Regions from separate parts of the Homo sapiens genome. Here regions 1, 2, 3, 4, 5 and 6 are each linked to region 7. The links are contacts of gene promoters, found by promoter capture Hi-C in human tissues and cell types (Jung and others, 2019). All regions are on one chromosome and are shown on one strand. The core of a region is centred on a gene start or on the middle of the fragment in contact, and the rest is flanking DNA. Distances in the headings are between cores, read along the strand shown. Region 1 holds the start of DNASE1L2 (deoxyribonuclease 1 like 2). Region 2 holds the start of KREMEN2 (kringle containing transmembrane protein 2). Region 3 overlaps TRAF7 (TNF receptor associated factor 7). Region 4 holds the start of CASKIN1 (CASK interacting protein 1). Region 5 has its middle 12 kb from the start of PRSS22. Region 6 overlaps NHERF2 (NHERF family PDZ scaffold protein 2). Region 7 holds the start of CEMP1 (cementum protein 1).

Region 1 (2,700 bases), core at 93-2,592, 290 kb after region 7:
CGCCCAGGAACAGCATGTCCTGCGGGCGCCGCGGAGCCGTGTCTGAGCCGCCGCAGGAGCCGTCGAGGTCCCGCCCTCATGAACCAGACCCCCGGGGCGCGCCTGCAGGGACCCCGGGACCGAGGGGTGGGCTTACGTCGGTGCCCCACTTGTCGATCACGTCCAGGTACACGTCGTAGAGCGCGTCGATCTCCGCCACGGCTTGATGCGGCGCCGCGTGCAGCGGGATCAGCACCAGGTTCTGTGCTGCTGCGGGAAGGGGTGGGGGCGTCAGAGCTCGGCGGGAGGGGAGGGGCGGGGCCCGCTCACCGGTGCCGGGGGCCGAGAACTTGACCACGAAGGGCTCGCGGCTGAAGACGTCCTCGGGGTCTGGGTACAGGTAGGTGTCCACGACCGACACCGCGTCTTTCCTAGGAGATGGGGAGGACCCGCTGAGCCCCCGACCTGCGGCCCCGCGCGCCCCTCCCTGCGGCCCGCCCCTCACCTGTACACGAACAGGTACATCTCCTTGTACTGGTCCCGGCCCAGGGGCTGGCTGCTCACAAAGCTGTACTCGTGCTCGGACACGCTGCGGAGACAGGGGCCCGCTCAGGGTCGGGGCGCCGCGCCGGGGCGAGATCCCGGCGGGGGGTCGCGACGAGGGGCCCTGCCCACCACACCTGTTGATCTGCTCCATGAGCGCGGACACGGCGCTGAGGTCTGGGTCTCGCACCTCCTGCACCAGCGCGAGGTCATAGCCAGCCAGGATCTGGGGAGGAGCGGCGGGTGCGGGGGTCAGCGCGGTCAGCACCCCTAAACGCCGCCCCGCCCCGGCCCGGGCCCCACCTTCGCGATGATGCTGCCGCAAGCGGGGTCCGACACTTTGCTGTCACCGAAGCTCTGAATGTTGAAGGCTCCGATGCGAAGCGCGGCGGTCCCGGCGGCTTCCAGCGCCCAGAGTGCGGCCAGCAGAGCCCGGGGCCCGCCCATGGCGCGGAGCGAGAGGCTGGGAGGGACAGACGCTGCCGCCTACGCAGACCCGCTGTCAGACCCACCGACCCACCCCTTCCCTCCGCGGCCGCCCCTTGACGGCCAGTGCGACGCGGAATCCGCCCCTGCGTTCTGCAGGCTCCCAGGGCACTGCTGGGCTCTCAGGGACCGCTGCCTTCTCACTGCGCGGGAAGCTGCAGCCGGAATGGAGGGTCCGGCCCATCCAGCCCCAGCTCAGGGCAGCCGAGAGACTCACCTTGGATGTGGGTGCAGAGGCCCGAGGCTCAGAGATCCTAGGGGGATGGGGATCCCGGGTCCAGGCTGCGGGCGTGTCCGACACAGGACTGCACTGACTCCCTCTGGCAGTAGCTCTGGCACCAAGGCAGGGGCCGGTATTTGAGGTCCTGGGCCAGGGAGGGGCCGGGCTGCACTGGGTCCCGCCCCCTCGACTCAGCTGGGTGCCTGATGAACTCCTGGCTTTCATTCCCATGGAGACCCCCAGGGTAAGGGGTGGGAGACCTGCCTGAGCCGGTTCTGGTGCCCCAGACCTGTCCCAAAACCGTCCCAGAAGCCCCTGCCAGCCCCCTAGGAGGGAGGTAGACGGTCAGCCACATCCCGGTGCGGCTGTGTTCTTGTCCTCGCCCCTAGAAATTAGGTCGCCTAGACTCTGCCTCCCTGAGCAGAATCCCTTCAGGGAAAGCAAGGCAGCGCAGGTAGGACCAGCCACACTCCCTACCCAGCATCTCCTGCTGCTGCTCCACCTGCTCACCCTGCGGTGGAGGCCGAGGCTCCCAGATCTCCCTGTCCCCGTCCCTGGTCCTCCCACCCACCCACAGGCCTCAGGCAGCGCAGCTGGGGGCACAGCTCCAGCTGGGCAGGGCAGGAGGCTGTTGGTCAACATGCCAATGACACCCACACAGCACCAAGGCGCCGCCAGGGCTGGCAGAAGCCCCTGGGTGGGGCGGCCAGGCACGTGAGTCTAGGAGTGGCCTGGGAGGCAGGTGCTGCTGCGGGGGCCTGGGCAAAGGTGGTGGCACCAGCCGCGGAGGCTGCCACTGCCACAACATCACAAGCTGCAGGTTCTCATGTTTTATTGTAAAGCAACAAGAAACTCTTATGTACACTGTCCGTCTTGGGGCGCCTCCATCCTGTGCCATCTTCTCTACCAGGCCAGGCAGGCATGGGTGGGGCGCTCAGAGTCCTCTGCCCTGTCCCTGCCCGGCCAGGACCCCGCAGACCTCATGCTAGACGATGACCGTCTGCACCTCCAGCTGGCCCTCCGGCGAGGCGATGACCAGCTCGCCTGCATGCTCCAGGATCTCGATGTCCTCTGATGACACCATGGTCACAGTGGCCTGTTCAGTGCCACTTGTCCCTGCCCGGGCGGCAAGCACAGTGCCCTCGCTGATGGCCGAGGCCAGCGTCATGGCCACCTGCTCTGTCAGGCTCTCGGGGGTGGCGATGGTGATGGTGTCGGCGGCAGCCGCCTCTGGGCCCAGCGCCGTCTCCTCGTCCATGGTGACGTTCTGCACGATGATCTGGTGGCCGGCGCTAGCCTGGTGCACGATCTGCTGCACCACCTTCATGATGTGGCTGTCCACCTGCAGGGCCACGGCTCAGCAAGAGCGGCTGTGCCAGGGAGCCTCCCCGCCCCCGCCTGCCCTACCCCTCACCTCTGTCTGGGTGCCCTCGATGATCTCCGTGGCCTCACTGGTCTCCGCATCGTCCGCA
Region 2 (2,700 bases), core at 161-2,660, 430 kb before region 7:
ATTCTCCTGCCTCAGCCTCCTGAGTAGCTGGGATTACAGGCGCCCGCCACCATGCCCCGCTAATTTTTTGTATTTTTAGTAGAAATGGGGTTTCACCATGGTAGCCAGGCTGGTCTCGAACTCCTGACCTCAGATGATCCGCCTGCCTTGGCCTCCCAAAGTGCTGGGATTACAGGCTGAGCCACCGCGCCTGGCCTCCAACCCCACTTAAAAGCAGAAGTGAGCTCCTGAGCTTTGCGGCTCTCCTCCCGCTGGGTCCATCCTGCCTCAGACCGTAGCTGTGGCTCTGAACCCCAAAATAAGTTGTATGACAAGAGCCCCACTCTGACAAGGCCCCGCCCATTCGGCCCCCGCTCTGACCAGGCCCCGCCCATACGGGTCCTTTGAGTGCCCAGGTCCGTTTCTCTCCTGGCCCTGAACTGGAGCTCTGCAGAAATTGTTCACCTGAGGAGGATCCCTTTTGCGCCAGGGTTCCGCGCGCCCCGCCCCGCCCCGCCCCGCCCCTCATTCTGGCCCCGCCCCCAGGTTCTCCAGGAGGCTGGGCTGCCAGTCCACGGCAGACCTCCACCCCGCCCGCACGGAGGCCCCGCTTCGGGCCATCCCTGCAATGGTGAGCCCAGCCTCGCCCCCAGCGCAGGCCCCGCCCCTCACCGGCAGAAGTTGTGCGCGCCCAGCCCCCAGCGGCCGTGGGGGTCGCTGGCGCTGCTGTAGCTGTGTTGCTGCGTCTGGTCCCAGAAGAGGCACGGGCGGCCCGCCCCGCGCGGGCCAGTGCGGTTCTGGTGGCCGCGGTAGTCAGCCCCATTCACCTGGAAGCATTCGGACAGGCCTGCACGGCAAAGGCAGGGCCTGGGGAGGTCCGGACCCACGCCGGGCATCCTCGCGCCCCTACGCCACCTCCCGCCTGGGTCCCCAGCCAGCGACCCCGCACCCGCCCCTGCAGGAGCCCTCGGGCTGCTCAGCTGCTCCGGCCACCTGCTCTGTCCCCCTCCCTAGCCTTGGGGGCCTGGCCCTGGGGGCGGAGGCCGAGGAAGGGGTGGTGAACACGGCCCGACAGCCGTGCGGGGACTTACCTGGACTGTGCAGGCTCCCAGCCGAGGCCCCACGCGGCTGCAGCAGCGGGAGGAAGAGGAGAAAGAGGAAGCCCTGCAGGGCTTGTGTCCCCATCGCTCTCAACCAAGGATAGGTCACCCTCGCCCGGACACGGCCCGGGCTGCCCCCGGGGTCGCTTCGGGGTCTCCCAGGAGACCTAGGGGGCGTTGTCCTCTGACAGTCTCCCCTCGTCCGACTCTGAGCCGCGCTTTCCGTCTGGGGTGGGTAAATCTCTCCTGGGGGTCTTTGCCTCCCAGGGCCTCTGCCCCTAGAGGCGTCTCTCTGTCCCTGTCCCTACCCGGGTCTCTCCGGGGGGAATCTGGCCGGGGGCGTTCTCAGTCTCTGTCTCAGCGAGCTCTGGGCGGTGCCTCAGCCTCTACGCCCGCCCCCTCCCACTGAGCCTAGCTCTCGGCGTCTCCCTCGCCCAGGTCTCCAACGGGCTGACTCCTGCCCGCCTCGCATCCCTCCGTGGGTCCCTCCCCCTGGGTCTCTCCCTCCCCCCATGGGAGGCCGGGAAGCCCCGCCCAGCACTGGAGCGGAGGCAGCAGGTCCAGACGCCTCCCACGCCCGTTCCCCCGACCCCGGGCGTCCAGCGCTTCCCGGCCCCCTCTCCCTCAGGTCGGTGCCGGTTCAAGTGGGAAGGTGTGGAGGGGGACAGGCGGGGCAAGCGGACGGAAGGCCCTTAAAATGGGAGATACAGAACCCCCTCACGTGGTCGCACGCGCCCCAGGACACCCGGAATGTCCGAGTTACAAGCGCCCTCCTCCCAGTGCACGCACGCGCTCGCACTCTCTCCCATTCATTGCCAGGCGCTCACGCGCACACTTTCTTCGGATCCGCACGCCCCTCCCGCCCCTGGTCCAGATGCCGCTGGCCTGACGGAGGAAGCTCCACTCCCTGCCCCCGCGCCCACGAGACAGGCGGGAGTCGTGGACGCTCAGTCCGGGACAGGCAGGGGCAGCTGGTGTCTGGGGAGAAAGGCAGCTGCGCCCCAGGTCCCAGTCTGTCCCCTCCTCCTCCCCCTGCCCCGCCCTTCCCTGGGACCCCCAGCCCAGACTCTCCCGAGCCTTCACACTGCAGTGGAATTCCCCCAGCCGTGCCCCCCACCTGGCGGGGGAGGGGGAGGGGAGCAGGCCCAGGCAGGCGTGGGGGGAAATTCCCCGCCCCCTCCCCCTGGGCCCGACTCCTCCGAGTCCTCTGATCTCCCAGCGCCACCCGCCCGCTGCCCCCAGGGCTTGGGGGGAGGCCAGCGCAGGTGCGTGGGAGGGCGGAGGCGGGGGCCGGGGGAAGGAACTGGTGGGGGCCGGGCGCCCAGAGCGGCCCCGCCCCGCCCAGACCTCTTTGCCCCTCAGTCCAGCCTGCCCAGCCCGCACCAGGCCCTCGCCAAGCTGTCGAGCCCAGGCCGACCAGTCCCCGCCCTGCAGCCCCCACACCGTCTCTGCCCCGGTGTCGATGGAGAAGAAAGATGGGGTTCAGGGAGGTTCTGTCAGGCCCAGGCACCCACTGCGGTGCTGGGACCCGCGAGGATCTTCCAGCTGGCGCCTCACGCGAGTGTGCTCTGGAGGAGGGGCGTGGAGCCGAGGTGGGGGCATTTGAAGGAGATGGACTTGC
Region 3 (2,700 bases), core at 126-2,625, 370 kb after region 7:
TCCCAGCTACCTGGGAGGCTGAGGTGGCAGGACTGATCCCAGGAGGCACAGGTTGCAGTGAGCCAAGATTGCGCCACTGCATTCCAGCTTGGGTGACAGAGTGACACCCGTCTCAAAAAAACAAACCAGACTTATGGATCTCTTCCACTCTCCCTCCCTTCCTATTAACATGTCACAACTGCAGCACTGTTACTGAAGCCCTAGGGCCAAACTCAAGAGAAGACCTCCGGGCACACGGGACCTTTCGGAGGCTGGCCAGGAGCCTGAGACTGGGGACAAGCTGGGGATCACTGTGACAAGGGACAGGGCTGTGTGGTGGTGCTGGAGATGTCAGGGCAAGCCTCCCTAGAGGGGATGAAGAGGGCAGGGAGAGAGGGCACAGCACAGTCACCGAGGCACAAGGAGCAGGACACCCGACTCCTGTCCAGTGGGGAGGCCCAGGGCTGAGAGGCTGTGAGGACACAGGCTGCGGTGTGAGGCTGCCCGCGCCCAGCACTGGCACCCAACACCAGCTCACCGGGAAGTGTCCCTCAGTCCTTAGCAGGGTGGGCATGGGGGTGCCCCGGTTATTCCCAGCCTGGGCTGGCCTTGGCTTAAGGGCTCACCTTTTGTGATGGTGGTGACGGCTGAAAAGGCGGGTCCGAAGGTCGTTTCCATTCTGGTCTAGAGGGAGGACGGAGGAGACCTGGCCTCATTCCGGGACACAAGGAGGACGTGCACATGTGGAGCCCACTCACATGCCTAACACGCGACCAGGCCAGGCCACGCAGCACTCACACACTTAACCATGCGACCAGGCCACGCCACGCAGCACTCACACGCTTAATCATGCGACCAGGCCGCGCCACGCAGCGCTAACACGCTTAACCATGCGACCAGGCCAGGCCACGCAGCACTCACACGCTTAACCATGCGACCAGGCTGCGCCACACAGCACTCACACGCTTAACCATGCGACCAGGCCAGGCCACGCAGCACTAACACGCTAAACCATGCGACCAGGCCAGGCCACGCAGCACTCACACGTTTAACCATGCGACCAGGCTGCGCCACACAGCACTCACACGCTTAACCATGCGACCAGGCCAGGCCACGCAGCACTAACACGCTTAACCATGCGACCAGGCCAGGCCACGCAGCACTCACACGCTTAACCATGCGACCAGGCCGCGCCACGCAGCACTCACACGCTTAACCATGCGACCAGGCCGCGCCACACAGCACTCACACACTTAACCATGCGACCAGGCCGCGCCACGCAGCACTAACACGCTTAACCATGCGACCAGGCCGCGCCACGTAGCACTAACACGCTTAACCATGCGACCAGGCCAGGCCATGCAGCACTCACACGCTTAACCATGCGACCAGGCCAGGCCACGCAGCACTCACACGCTTCAGCATGCGACCAGGCCAGGCCACGCAGCACTCACACGCTTAACCATGCGACCAGGCCAGGCCATGCAGCACTCACACGCTTCAGCATGCGACCAGGCCAGGCCATGCAGCACTCACACGCTTAACCATGCGACCAGGCCAGGCCACGCAGCACTCACACGCTTAACCATGCGACCAGGCTGCGCCACACAGCACTCACACGCTTAACCATGCGACCAGGCCAGGCCACGCAGCACTAACACGCTTAACCATGCGACCAGGCCAGGCCACGCAGCACTCACACGCTTAACCATGCGACCAGGCTGCGCCACACAGCACTCACACGCTTAACCATGCGACCAGGCCAGGCCACGCAGCACTAACACGCTTAACCATGCGACCAGGCCAGGCCACGCAGCACTCACACGCTTAACCATGCGACCAGGCCGCGCCACGCAGCACTCACACGCTTAACCATGCAACCAGGCCGCGCCACACAGCACTCACACGCTTAACCATGCGACCAGGCCGCGCCACGCAGCACTAACACGCTTAACCATGCGACCAGGCCGCGCCACGTAGCACTAACATGCTTAACCATGCGACCAGGCCAGGCCACGCAGCACTCACACGCTTAACCATGCGACCAGGCCAGGCCACGTAGCACTCACACGCTTAACCATGCGACCAGGCCAGGCCACGCAGCACTAACACGCTTAACCATGCGACCAGGCCAGGCCACGCAGCACTCACACGCTTAACCATGCGACCAGGCCGCACCACGCAGCACTAACACGCTTAACCATGCAACCAGGCCGCGCCACGCAGCACTAACACGCTTTACCATGCGACCAGGCCAGGTCACGCAGCACTCACACGCTTAACCATGCGACCAGGCCGCGCCACGCAGCACTCACACGCTTAACCATGCAACCAGGCCGCGCCACACAGCACTAACACGCCCCAACCACACACGCACGCGTGCGCGCGCGCGCGCGCGCGCGCACACACACACACACACACACCACACCCCCCCCCACCGAGCTCCCCTGAGACCCCAGCTCGGGACGGGACTGCGCTGGGAGCTCTGCAGGCAACACCAGATCCCTGGGGCATGCTGGGGGTCCTGGGGATGTTGGGCTTGCAGAGGGGCACACCCTTACCCCTGTGGTGACGTCTGGGGTGGGAAGATTGCTGGGCCCCCCGGAGAAGCGGTTGTAGCGGGCACTCTTGCCTGAGCTCATGCTCTAGAGAGGCATCTACGGTCCTTGGGAAGCACCTCCTGTGGGTGGAGCACAAATGAGGGGCTTGAGAGATGGAGCC
Region 4 (2,734 bases), core at 2-2,501, 330 kb after region 7:
AGGAAAGGCCCTAGCATTTGGGGACCCCTCCCAGGAGTGCTGGAAGACCAAGGGCTGCTACCTGAACCTAACAGGAGACCCCACGGAGGGAACGGGAACGGCCAGCTGCCCACAGGATGCCGGGACCCCGGTGCCTGTCACCTTCCCTGTCCCTGCTGTCTGACCTCCTCTGTCCCCCTGGACCTGCTCAATGGTCTGGGGCCACACAGAGTGGGGTGCCAGGCCATGCCTCATAGAATGGGTGCGACCCTCCCCAAATTCTCCAAACGGCCTTGCCCGCTTGGGTGATGAGGGAAACGGAGCCTGAGTCGGGACTCAGACCCCCACTGATCTGCCTCTAGAATGCTGCAGGCCTGACGGGAGAGGGCCTGAGGCGCAGGGTGGCCCAAGCCTTCAGCCAGGAGCTCAGAGGGTCACAAGTCGGGGCCTCCAGCACCCAGGAAGCAGGACTCGCCTGCCTGGGCTGCAGGCTGGAGAGTGGGCAGACGTGGGCCGGGGGTCGGTTGGTGCCGGCGGGAGGTTCCAGCCCCTGTGGATGGAGATGGAGGCGACCCCCAGTCGGTGCGGGGAGTGGGGAGTTGAGCTCCCTCAGTGGGGGTGGTGGGGGCTACCTTGGGGTCAGGCTTCGGACTGAGGCTGGGGGAAGCTGTGGCGCCCGCATTATTTGCGGAGAGGAGCAGGAGGATGCTTGGGGGTTGGGGGTGCGGGTTCCCTGACACCGAATTCATTATTGGGAGATTCCTCTTCACAATCCCTCGACACCTCCCACGGGAACCCTGGGCCAGGAACGCCTGACAGCCTGGCGGGCCGGCTCCAGGGGCACTGGCGCCCGGGTCTCTCGGCGCCCGGTCCCCGCCCGCCCGCTGCCTCGGAACCGTCCCCCGCGGGTCCCGCAGCCTCTGGAAGCCTCTCTGGGCTCAGCCCCGCGCCGCCGCCGCGTCGGGGCTCCCAGTGCACCCCCGGCGGCCGCGTCCCCAGCCCGGCTAGCAGCCCCAGGCCGCCCGCGTCCGCAGAGGCCTGGCCTGAGCGCGCTGCGCGCACGTGGGGAGGGGGCGTCCCGGGGCGGGCGCGGGGAGGGCGGAGCCACGGGCCCGGGCGCGCGGCCGGCGCGGGCTGACGGAGGTCGGCGGCCCGGGAGCGGACCCCGGCGTCCGGGAGGCGGCGCCAGGTGCCGCGCCCCCGCCCCGCGCCCGCCGCGCGCCCCCGCCCCCGGGCCGCCCCCCGCCCGTGACGCGCTCCCCGCCCCCTCCGCGCCGGGAGCCCGAGCCCAAGCCGGAGCCCGAGGAGGGCGAAGGGGCGGCGGGCGGCGAGGAGGCGGCGGGGGAGGCGGCGGGGGAGGCGGCCGGTGCCGCGGGGCCGCCGCCGCCTCTGAGCCGCGCCGAGCTCACGAGCGCAGCCGCGTCGCTGCGGCCCCGGCCGCGCCATGGGGAAGGAGCAGGAGCTGGTGCAGGCGGTGAAGGCGGAGGACGTAGGGACCGCGCAGAGGCTGCTGCAGAGGCCGCGGCCCGGGAAGGCCAGTGAGTGCCGGGGGCGCGGGGCGCGGGTGGGAGCCCCGGGGGCCCCTCCCCGGCGCGGAGCCCCCCACCCGGCGCCGGGCGGGGAGGGGACGTTGTCGGGTCCCCGGGGGCGGGGCGGGGCCAGCAGCGCCCAGACCCTTGGTCCGTGCCCTCCACCCGCTGCCCCCAGCACTGGAGATGGGGCGGCCCCGAGAGCCGGCCGCCACCGTGAGCCCCGCAGCGGGCACCTGGCGGCACCCGCCTCCCGGGCCGCGGGCGTTCGCATCCCTCTCTCTCTACCTCTGTCCCCCTCCCTTCCCAGGCTGCGGGCTGACAGCTGGAGGTCTCTGCTGGGGCCTTCAAAGGGCGAGGCGGATGCCCCCCCCACCCACCACACGCACCGGGAAGACAGGGAGGGGGCCCCTGCGGCGAGGGGCGACCCGGGAGGTGACAGTCCCTAGCAGACCCCCTCCCGCCCCACGTTTAATAACACGCTTTGCAGGGAAGGTGGGGGCAGGACCACGCTGGGGGTGTGGCTGCCCTGGCATGGCCGGTGGGGTGCCATTTACTGATGGGAGAGCAGAGGCCCAAGGTCGCCCAGCCCAGGGCAGGCTGGACTCCAGGCAGGGCCGGCCTGGGCGCAAGGGCTTGGGGCCCTGCTCAGGCAGGCTCCAGCAGAGCCGGGTCTCCAGCTTCCCTGCTGGGAAAGGAGGCCATGAGGGAGTGGGGGACCACCACTGGCCATCCCCAGCTTGCCCTATGGCCGGCCCCAGGAAAGGGCTGGGAGCTTGGAGCCCTGGTCCCAGCACTCATCCTGGCTCAGCGCGTAGCCTCCCTGGGGGCCGCCGGAGATGGATGGATGGGCGTGTGGACCAGCCGCGTGTGCGGCTGCGCACGTATAGCCGTGTCAGTGTGTCAGGGCACCTGTGCGGGCACGGACAGGGCTCTGCAGGTCGGCACGTGGGGTCTGGGCGTCCTCCCTCCTCCCTCCACCCCCACAGACTGTAAGCCAGAGAGTCCCCCTCCCCTTCCTCCAGGGGGATGCCGAGAACTGGGACTGGCTTCTGGGAGATTGTTGGGGGCACCTAGGAGTCCCAGGAGGACCCCCTCCCCCGTACTTCACCAGCAGCCCATGACTGGCTAGCTCCTGTCCACTCTGTGCAGTAAGAGAGAGGGGGCACCGGTGCCTTGCAGGCTGGCCCCGAGCTGATTTCAGGTCCGGGGGCTCAGAAAGGGAG
Region 5 (2,700 bases), core at 169-2,668, 340 kb before region 7:
AGTGTCTTGCTCTGTCACCCAGGCTGGAGTGCAGTGGCACAATCACTGCAACCTCTACCTCCTGGGTTCAAGCGATTCTCCTGCCTCTGTCTCCCGAGTAGCTGGGATTACAGGCATGTGCCACCATGCCAGCTAATTTCTGTATTTTTAGTAGCGACGGGGTTTCACTATGTTGGCCAGGCTGATCTTGAACTCCTGATCTCAAGGGATCCACCCACCTCAGCCTCCCAAAGTGCTGTGATTACAGGCGTGAGCCACTGTGCCCTGCTGTAATTATGTTACATCGCTCCTTGAGGGTTCTGCTTCCTCGATCACACAAATGAATTTTACCCTAACAGATATATACAGATATATCTTACGTTGATGTCATTTTAAATCACTGGGGAATGAAAAGATGATTGATTCAATAAACATTGCTGAAAAAATTACTTAACATATTTGGAAAATAGTATATCTTTATATTGTTCATAAAAATGTTTTTAAAACCTCAAACTATAAACATATTGGGAAAAGTAGAATATGCTTGCAACCCTGGAATACAGAAACAAAATGCAAACATCATAAGGATCGAAACGTAAATATATCAAAATTATAAGTTATTTAGAGGCGGTTTTTCAGGTTTGACCTACAGATTGTTAAAATAAAAATTATTGGTAGCCAGACTCAGTGGTATGAGCCTGTGTTCCCAGCTACTCGGGAGGCTGAGGCAAGAGGATGGCTTGATCCCTGGAGTTCAAGGGTGTGGTGCACTATGGTCACGTCTGTGAATAACCACTGCACTTCAGCATGGATAATATAATGATACCCTGCCTCAAAAAAAACCTGAGGGATTCACTGTGAGTCAAGGCATCCAGCTATATGCTAAAGTTGAGCAAATTTTACAAAATGCTGAGAGAGAAAAGAGATAAAAGGATAGACAGACAGACATGCTTGAATGGAGCTTTGGGGATAAAGGACATTGTGGGCCAGATATACAGCCACCAACCTTCGGCCACGCTGCGGAATCAGGATTCATTCTTGGCTAGATTGCAGAGACAGGGCAGGAGACACAGCTGAAGAGCTGGTTCGCTGGAGACAAGAGAGCTCAAGCCTGGAGAACAGTAAAGAACCTCCCCTGCCAGGCGCAGTGGCTGACACCTGTAATCCCAGCACTTTGGGAGGCCGAGGAGGGCGGATCACGAGGTCAGGAGATCGAGACCATCCTGGCTAACACAGTGAAACCCTGTCTCTACTAAAAATACAAAAAATTAGCTGGGCGTGGTAGCATGTGCCTGTAGTCCCAACTACTCAGGAGGCTGAGGTAAGAGAAGTGCTTGAACCCAGGAGGCTGAGATCGCACCACTGCACTCCAGCCTGGGTGACAGAGCGAGACCCCGTCTCAAAAATGCTCAGTCTGCAGTGAGAAACTCTAACCCTCTCCAGCTTCATCTCCCATCAGTCTCCTGCGGTTTTTCCTTTCCAGGCTTTGCCTAGGCAGTTTTCACATGCTGTCATCTCCTGTCTTCCCTTTTTTGACAGCGTCCCTCTGACTGTAAGCCCTACGAGTTCTGGGTTGGCTCACTGCTTCCTTGCCTCCTTCAGGCAGAGTGAGTTGCTCTCCAGGACTTCAACCTGCCTTCTCCCCCAGTGTGTACATCACAGTCACAGTGATTGTCTGTTTACTATCTCCTGCCTCAGAAGACTGAGCTCCTGGAGCCAAGGATCGCGGCTTAAGCTCACCCCTGCAGCCCCATCTCTCTCTACACAGGCCTAACACACGGTCAGTGTGGAACAAAGTCTTGGTCTCCCTGCTGCTGGTTGTTCCTCTCCTCAACCTGTTCCACAAACAGATGGCTGATTCTCATCCTAAAGCAAAGTTGATTTTATCACCCCCAACTCAAAATCCTTCCCTGGCTGACTTTCGCTTTTGAAACGCTTTCAATTGTTAGCATTCAGGCCTTGCACGTGGTGCACCAAGGGCTGTTAGGATAATTGGAGAGAAAAGGTTGAGGTAAGAGTCCCGGTGAGGGTCAAGGTTAGGCAAACTGATAAGTAAATTGAGAGCCCAGCGAAGCACATAATTTCCTCTCTCCTGCTCTTCCTCAAACACTCATGGAGCACCATGTGTCAGTTTCTGCGCTGAATCTTAATAAAGCAGAAAATGATTATGTTCCTATGCTGACCCCAAAAAGACACGGACCTTGTTCTGTCTCTCCACGTTGGCTATTGTCTGACTCCAGTGGTATGCTGCTGAATGTTTAACAACTGACTTTCTGGGAAGAAAAAAAAAAAGCCCTGATTTCTACAGTTTACCAATTTCTATGGTGTAAATATTCCCACCATAGCCGATTTCAAGTCTCCAATATGATGTCATTGAACATAGAGTTGGAAAGAAACGTGCAATAGCACACTATTATATAGTATTCCCACCATACAGATAAGATGGATGTAAATCACTCCAAGAACACAGATAGTAGTAAAACAGCAAAACAATTAACCAGTGATACATTTTGAGTGTTTTCTTTCTTCATTTGTTTATTTATTATTTTTTGGACAGTAAGTCGTTCTGTCTCCCAGGCTGGAGTGCAGTGGCATGATCTCAGATCACTGCAACCTCCACCTCCAGGTTCAAGCGATTCTCCTGCCTCAGCCTCCCAAGTAGCTGGGATTACAGGTGCGCGCCACCACGCCCAGCTAATTTTTGTACTTTTAGTGGAGATG
Region 6 (2,700 bases), core at 201-2,700, 490 kb after region 7:
TGGGCCAGGCCCTTGGCTTCTCTAAGCTCTGGCCACAAAGTGGGTGAGGCAGTCCTCGTCATTCACTGTCCAGGTGGGCAGGAGGCTCACACAACGTGACGTGGCCTGACTCAGCCTTGAAGCATGGCCACTTCCGTGTTACAGAGGAGGAAACTGAGGCTCAGAGCCCCAGGGGTGTGACCCCTCAGGCCTTGTGGTCTCCCCACACCCTCGGACACCTTTTTCTAGGCAGCAGCGAAGGAGCTGGTGCAGGCCTCGGCTTTCTCTTTGGGAAACACGGGAGGAGGAGGCAGGGCTGGGGCTGCAGCTGGCCGGGGCCACCGGGTGGGAGAAGGGAGCCCCAGTGAGCAGACGCCTGGGGTGGCCAGCTGAGGGGAGCAGGAGCCAGAACCCAGGTGGACAGCAGCTGCGGCCGGCCAGGGCATGCTCCCGCTGTGTCCCTGACCGCTGCAGTGGCAGGTGCTAGGTCTGCAGGCAGTGACCTCATGCCGGCCTGCCAGGCAGAGCTGTTGCCACCCAGCCTGGTGCCCAGAGCCAGTGCTTATGCCGAGAGGAGCCTCAGGCCACAGGAGACAGACAGAGGGAAGCCTGGATGGACCCTTCCGGGGACAGGGCCACGTTCCTGGGGAGGCTGAGGGCTGAGAGGTGCTTCGGAGTCGGGATCCTGCCGGGCCTCGGTTTCAGCATCCGTAGGACCTCATGAGGACTCACTGAGCTGGCCAATCTCTCTGGCAGGGTCTGGCCCCCAGCAAGCGTTTGTCCAAGCGAGCTGTCGCTGTTATTGTGGGGAATAGAGCTCCAAGCAGAGCCGAGTCATCACCCCCAGGCCCTGCCCAAAGCAGAGACCCCACCACCCACACATCCAACTAGCACCAGTGTTGGGAGTGGGCAGCCCAGAACAGAGCCCCCCAGGCTGGCTCAGGTGATGGGAGAGAGGCCTGCACCCCAACAGAGGGCTCAGCCCCTGCCCCAGCACCTCAGGGGCAGCCAAGATGGTCACATGTAGGCTTGCAGCCAGGGCTTTGCGGTTCCAATGTCTAACTGGAGGGCCACGGGGGTGGTGGCAGACTCGCCTCTGGGCGGGGAGGGGCACGGGCTAGGCTGGTGGAGTGTGCCCCTGTTCACCCCGCTTGGCCTCCCAGCAGCAGTGGACACGCATGTGCACAGAATCGCCAACAGGCTGAGGTGGACCAAGAAGGCAACCAAGTCCCCAGAGGAGACCCGCGCCGCCCTGGAGGAGTGGCTGCCTAGGTATGAGTATGTGGGGGGCTTCCTAGGGAGAAGAGCTCACCCCGCCCGCCCTCTGTCAGCACTGACCCAGCCCCCACCCCCACAGGGAGCTGTGGCACGAGATCAATGGACTCTTGGTGGGCTTCGGCCAGCAGACCTGTCTGCCTGTGCACCCTCGCTGCCACGCCTGCCTCAACCAAGCCCTCTGCCCGGCCGCCCAGGGTCTCTGATGGCCGCATGGCTCTGGCCGAGGTGCCGCTGTGGCCACCGTCTGTGAAGTGGCTTTACGCTTCAGGAAGCCACGCCTGTTGAATAAAGCTTTGGTGTGTTTGCAGATGGGATCTGGCTGATGTCTGTCCCTGAGGGGGCAGAGAGCCTGGGAATCGCATACAAGGATGTGTTCGTACACACCCGTGCTCGCGTGTCTGGAGCAGGGCTGCCTGGGAGGCCGGCTGGGGACGTGACAATCTTTGCTATGTACTCAGGGAGGGGGAGGGGGTGTGCATGAACCTGGGAGGGAGGAAGTGGGGAGAGCCAGCTGCAGCCAGCTGTTGGAAGTCCGCTGGGGAAGCAAGCAGCCCCCGGGCAGCTGGCTGGGGACCCTGGCCCCTCATGCTATCCACCGCCGGCCCCCCAGCTTCCCAGCCCGGACACCGCCAGCTCCTGAACTTTCATGCCCTCAAAGCCCAGCCTCTGCCAGGGTCCCACCCCTGTTTACAGAGCTACCCGGCCTTGAAAGGGACACTGGGGACCCAGGCAGGGCGCCACAGGGTACAAAGCTTGACCTGTGACTGCTAGAGGTCGCAGGGTGAATTGGGCAAAGGGTGGCCCGTGTGGGTGTTGTGTGGGGCCGGATGGCTTCACAGGGAAGGTGAAGGTGGGAGGCTGAGTCTGCCAAATAAGAGAGATGGGCATGGGCCCAGGATGTGCCACACAGCAGGGGGTCCCATGGGGGTCAGCGGGGGAGATGGAGCAGGGCTGGGAGCAGATGGATGCAGGGCACGGGCTCAGGAACGAGACCGTTTCCAGCTGCTGAGACTCGGGGAGGGGGCTCCCTGAAACAGCCTCATCCCTCCACCCCTCTCACCCCACGGGGAGGAGGCTCAGAAAAGACAGAGGCGTGTGGGTCCCAGGCAGGGCCTGTTTATCCTGAGAGCGCGCATGCGCTATGGCTTACGAGGCAACAGCGGTGCCGGTCGATCGGTGGTCGGTTCGGGGGTGCGGGGCCCGGGAGGGAAGTGCAAAGTCAACAGGGTGTCCACGGGGGAGCCCGCCAAGCAGGGCTGAGCCAGAGGCCAGGCGTCCTTCCCGGGTGCCGCTCTCACACACCTACGTTCCCCAGGCCTGGGAGCTGCCGCGCGGAATGAGGGGCCTGTCCAGAGGCCGCCCTCCTCGGGGACGTGGGGCCTCCATCCTCAGGCCCCTCGGAGAGCCCAGGCCCCCAGCAGGGCACAGGCGCACAGGGTAGCT
Region 7 (2,785 bases), core at 130-2,629:
CGCCCACCCTGGGTCCCTAGCCTGGGCTCCAAACCAACTCCGAGCTAGGGAAGCTCCGAGCCAGGGTGCTTCTAGAGTGTCCGGCCCACCCCTCCGCTTCATTTCCCAAGACAGTGAGGGCGGGGCTAGAGGCCAGGTGCGGAGGTGCGGGACAGGAGCCAAGCTGGGTCGTAGTGGGATCCACCTGTGCGTGATACGTAACAGAAGGGAGAGGCGAGGCGCGGGGAGGTCCGCAGGGATGTGGGAGACGCGACGGGGAGGACTGGGACGAAACAAACTAGGTCCGCAAGGGTATAAGGGGAGCAGCTCGGAGGGTTGGGGCGAGGCGGGGTCTACAGGGGTGTGGGGGGCTTGGCAGGGAGCGCTGGGGCGACGCGGAGCTCCGCAGCGTTGGCGGGGAGCGTTGTGGGGAGACGGGGTCTGCAGGAATGTGAGGGCGCGGTGGGGAGCGTAGCGGGGTATGCAAGGTTGTGAGGGTTGTGGATGGGAGGGCTGGGGCGAGGCGGGGTCCGCAGAGATGTGGGGGGCGCAGAGATGGGGGGGGTCCGCGGGCCCGCCGGGGACCGCGCAGCCTCGGGCTCTGTGCCCGGGGCCGCGCGGGTTAACTAGAGAAGGTGACGCGCGCCCCTGTTGCTCAGCCGCGGCGCGTGCCTTCCCTGCGGCGATCCTAATTGGCCCGACAGAAGCCCGCCCCCAGAAGCCCCTCCCACAGTAGGCAAGGCCCCGCGTGCCGCAACGCTCCCAGAGTTGCGCGTCAGCCTGGACTCAGCGCCTGCGCTACGAGGCTGGGCGGGGCGCGGCCGGATCGGTCGAGAGCGTCCTGGCTGATGACGGTCTCCCGTGCCCACGCCCCAAACGCAGTCTCTGGCCTGGATGTGCTCGGAGCCCACGAGGTGCAGAGGCTCGGACGGCGAAAGGGACCTGGCTGAGATCTGGGTCTTAAACCGCGGGCTCGGCCCAGCATCCCGGCAGCGTGCGCCCACAAGTGACACCCGGCCGGGCGCGGTCTGCGGGATCGCAGGCGCCGGGTCTCATCTCCAGTTCACACACGGGACGAAACGGGCCACCCCTACCAGCTCTGAGAGCATGCACCTCCAACTCCATCCCTCCCCACATGCCCGACCCCCCAACCCGTAACTCAGGCAGACACCTGGGCGTCCCCCTTCAGCGAATGCCCACACCGCGGGCAGGCCTGCCCCTCACCCCGCAGTCAGGGCGCCCTGCATCCTTCTTTGTAAAACCCATAGCTGTAGAGGGAGCGGAATGGTGGGGCAGGGCTGGGAGCCCAGCGGGAGTGAGTGGTGGGGAATGATGGTGGCCAAGGTCACACAAAGCAGTGAATTCACTTCATGTCACAGAACTGCTCAGGTTACGATAGTTACTTTTGTTATGTATTTTACCACAATTTTTAAAAAGCAAACCAAAACCAACCAAGAGTGCTTCCCCCACACCTCAAAATCATCCTGCAGCAGCTCCCTGGCCCAGCTCTCTCTCACCCTGACCCTGGGCCCCTCTCCCACCACCCAGGGCTAGCCCTGTGGACCAACCATCTCTGCCAGCCCCTCCCCGACCCTCCAGCCAGGGAGGTGGGGCGCTGGCCGGTGAATGGGGCAGGCCAGGCCCAAAGGCTGGCCCAGGGCTCACCAGCTCTGGACTGGGCGTCCCGTCTGAGGTGGGGATGACCAACATGCCAGCTCTGGGTTTTAGCTGAGGATGGGCACATCAAGCACTGACAGCCAGCAAGCTGGGCACAGGCGATGCTCAACCTCTAACACATCGGCTGAGAACCTCACCTGCCTCTCCCTGCCTGGGAGCCCTGGCAAGACAGCTCCTCTCCCAGGCCCAGCACAGGCAGGCGCTGGACAGCCACTTCCTAAGGGGTGCGCGGCCGTCAAGGCAGAGGTGGGTATCCCTGCACCTCACACCTCTCAGGAGGTCAGGATCCACATCCGTCGCCTGCTTTCCTGGGCTGCCCCTGGGGCTTGTGGGCTGAGATCAACCCCTTGTGCCCTGCCCCAGGCCCTCCCTCAGGCGAGGCCCTGCCCAGGCAGGTGGTTCTTCCCTGGCTGTTCCCTTCCAACAGGTGGGGCCCAGACCATCCTATCTCTTTGGACCTGGAGACATTTCCTTAACTGGGCTTTGCAGCAGAGGGAAGAGAACAGTGGCAGAGCCAGGCGCGTACCTCCTGTGCCCAGGACAGCACCTGTAAGCAAGGGGGAAGGGAGCCACCCACCCCAGAACTCAAATGGAGAGAAAGTCAAGACAATCACCCCTGACGTGGGGCTGCACCAATCCCTGACGTCTGACCCCACTGTGGCTGTCCTCAGAGCCAAGAGGGCTCCAGAAGCCCACCCGCCTCGAAGCTGTTCAGGGAGCCTCACGGCCCGTGTTTGCCACATGGGTGTGTGCCAGGGCCAAGGGGACACAGAAGATGGCAGGATGACACTAATGGGGTGAGCAGGGCACACTGGTGCCTCCCATACTGCCCTCCAGCACCAGGCAGGGTCACCACAGCCGGCAAGCACTGGGCCTGGGGATGTGTGAAGAGATAGGGTTATTGAGAAGAGAAAACAGAACGCTGGTCATCCGTGGCACTCAGGGCTAGGCAGTCCAGGGAGCAGAAAACAGGGGTCCCGGGCCCAGTCTCCCTCCTGGAGGTCAGAGCGGAGCCCCTGGCACTGTGCCCTGGCCCAGAACCAGGCTGTGGGCTCCACGCTGCACACCCCAACTCAGGAGCAGAAAGCAAACCCCTGACTGTCCACACTCCCTGTGACTGGTCCCCTTC

The links. Contacts are between HindIII fragments. The study calls those that stand out against the background at their distance.
Region 1: a contact is called between the fragment with the promoter of DNASE1L2 here and the fragment with the promoter of CEMP1 in region 7, in 4 of the 25 tissues and cell types used here (IMR-90 fibroblasts, dorsolateral prefrontal cortex, lymphoblastoid cells and 1 more).
Region 2: a contact is called between the fragment with the promoter of KREMEN2 here and the fragment with the promoter of CEMP1 in region 7, in 4 of the 25 tissues and cell types used here (adrenal gland, dorsolateral prefrontal cortex, lymphoblastoid cells and 1 more).
Region 3: a contact is called between a fragment that was not itself captured here and the fragment with the promoter of CEMP1 in region 7, in 3 of the 25 tissues and cell types used here (dorsolateral prefrontal cortex, mesenchymal stem cells and spleen).
Region 4: a contact is called between the fragment with the promoter of CASKIN1 here and the fragment with the promoter of CEMP1 in region 7, in 3 of the 25 tissues and cell types used here (dorsolateral prefrontal cortex, lymphoblastoid cells and spleen).
Region 5: a fragment that was not itself captured here is called in contact with the fragment with the promoter of CEMP1 in region 7 in 1 of the 25 tissues and cell types used here (dorsolateral prefrontal cortex).
Region 6: a fragment that was not itself captured here is called in contact with the fragment with the promoter of CEMP1 in region 7 in 2 of the 25 tissues and cell types used here (dorsolateral prefrontal cortex and lymphoblastoid cells).

What each region holds. Positions count from the first base shown.
Region 1 is chr16:2,235,086-2,237,785 of GRCh38, reverse strand. It overlaps DNASE1L2 (deoxyribonuclease 1 like 2), which reads right to left and starts at 1,342. Exons shown (of 7, transcript NM_001374.3): 1 at 1,226-1,342; 2 at 826-1,008; 3 at 660-748; 4 at 485-568; 5 at 137-410; 6 at 1-19. The coding sequence starts at 969. E4F1 (E4F transcription factor 1) reads right to left here. Exons shown (of 14, transcript NM_004424.5): 13 at 2,643-2,700; 14 at 2,044-2,570. The coding sequence ends at 2,214. The HindIII fragment of the contact is 25,906 bases long and covers 1-2,700 here.
Region 2 is chr16:2,962,985-2,965,684 of GRCh38, reverse strand. KREMEN2 (kringle containing transmembrane protein 2) reads right to left here and starts at 1,410. Exons shown (of 9, transcript NM_172229.3): 1 at 1,071-1,410; 2 at 652-826. The coding sequence starts at 1,164. RefSeq lists enhancers at 1-31, 1-593, 2,562-2,691, 2,178-2,700 and silencers at 392-761, 832-1,081, 1,612-1,691, 2,242-2,371, 2,402-2,481. The HindIII fragment of the contact is 31,540 bases long and covers 1-2,700 here.
Region 3 is chr16:2,163,842-2,166,541 of GRCh38, reverse strand. TRAF7 (TNF receptor associated factor 7) reads right to left here. Exons shown (of 21, transcript NM_032271.3): 2 at 2,541-2,659; 3 at 606-663. The coding sequence starts at 2,621. Among named protein-coding and RNA genes, the nearest start is that of TRAF7, 9.4 kb to the right of the region's middle. RefSeq lists enhancers at 615-1,387, 1,388-2,161, 2,571-2,700. The HindIII fragment of the contact is 6,093 bases long and covers 1-2,700 here.
Region 4 is chr16:2,195,122-2,197,855 of GRCh38, reverse strand. CASKIN1 (CASK interacting protein 1) reads left to right here and starts at 1,251. Exons shown (of 20, transcript NM_020764.4): 1 at 1,251-1,517. The coding sequence starts at 1,424. The HindIII fragment of the contact is 36,898 bases long and covers 1-2,734 here.
Region 5 is chr16:2,868,934-2,871,633 of GRCh38, reverse strand. No RefSeq gene overlaps it. Among named protein-coding and RNA genes, the nearest start is that of PRSS22, 12 kb to the right of the region's middle. The HindIII fragment of the contact is 8,538 bases long and covers 1-2,700 here.
Region 6 is chr16:2,038,684-2,041,383 of GRCh38, reverse strand. It overlaps NHERF2 (NHERF family PDZ scaffold protein 2), which reads right to left. Exons shown (of 7, transcript NM_001130012.3): 7 at 2,358-2,700. It overlaps NTHL1 (nth like DNA glycosylase 1), which reads left to right. Exons shown (of 6, transcript NM_002528.7): 5 at 1,146-1,251; 6 at 1,337-1,564. The coding sequence ends at 1,460. Among named protein-coding and RNA genes, the nearest start is that of NTHL1, 7.8 kb to the left of the region's middle. The HindIII fragment of the contact is 4,986 bases long and covers 1-2,700 here.
Region 7 is chr16:2,530,002-2,532,786 of GRCh38, reverse strand. It overlaps CEMP1 (cementum protein 1), which reads left to right and starts at 1,379. Exons shown (of 1, transcript NM_001048212.3): 1 at 1,379-2,752. The coding sequence starts at 1,714. The coding sequence ends at 2,457. It overlaps AMDHD2 (amidohydrolase domain containing 2), which reads right to left. Exons shown (of 11, transcript NM_001330449.2): 11 at 1,370-2,785. MIR3178 (microRNA 3178) reads left to right here and starts at 782; the gene lies at 782-865. RefSeq lists enhancers at 97-146, 1-148, 927-976. The HindIII fragment of the contact is 25,225 bases long and covers 1-2,785 here.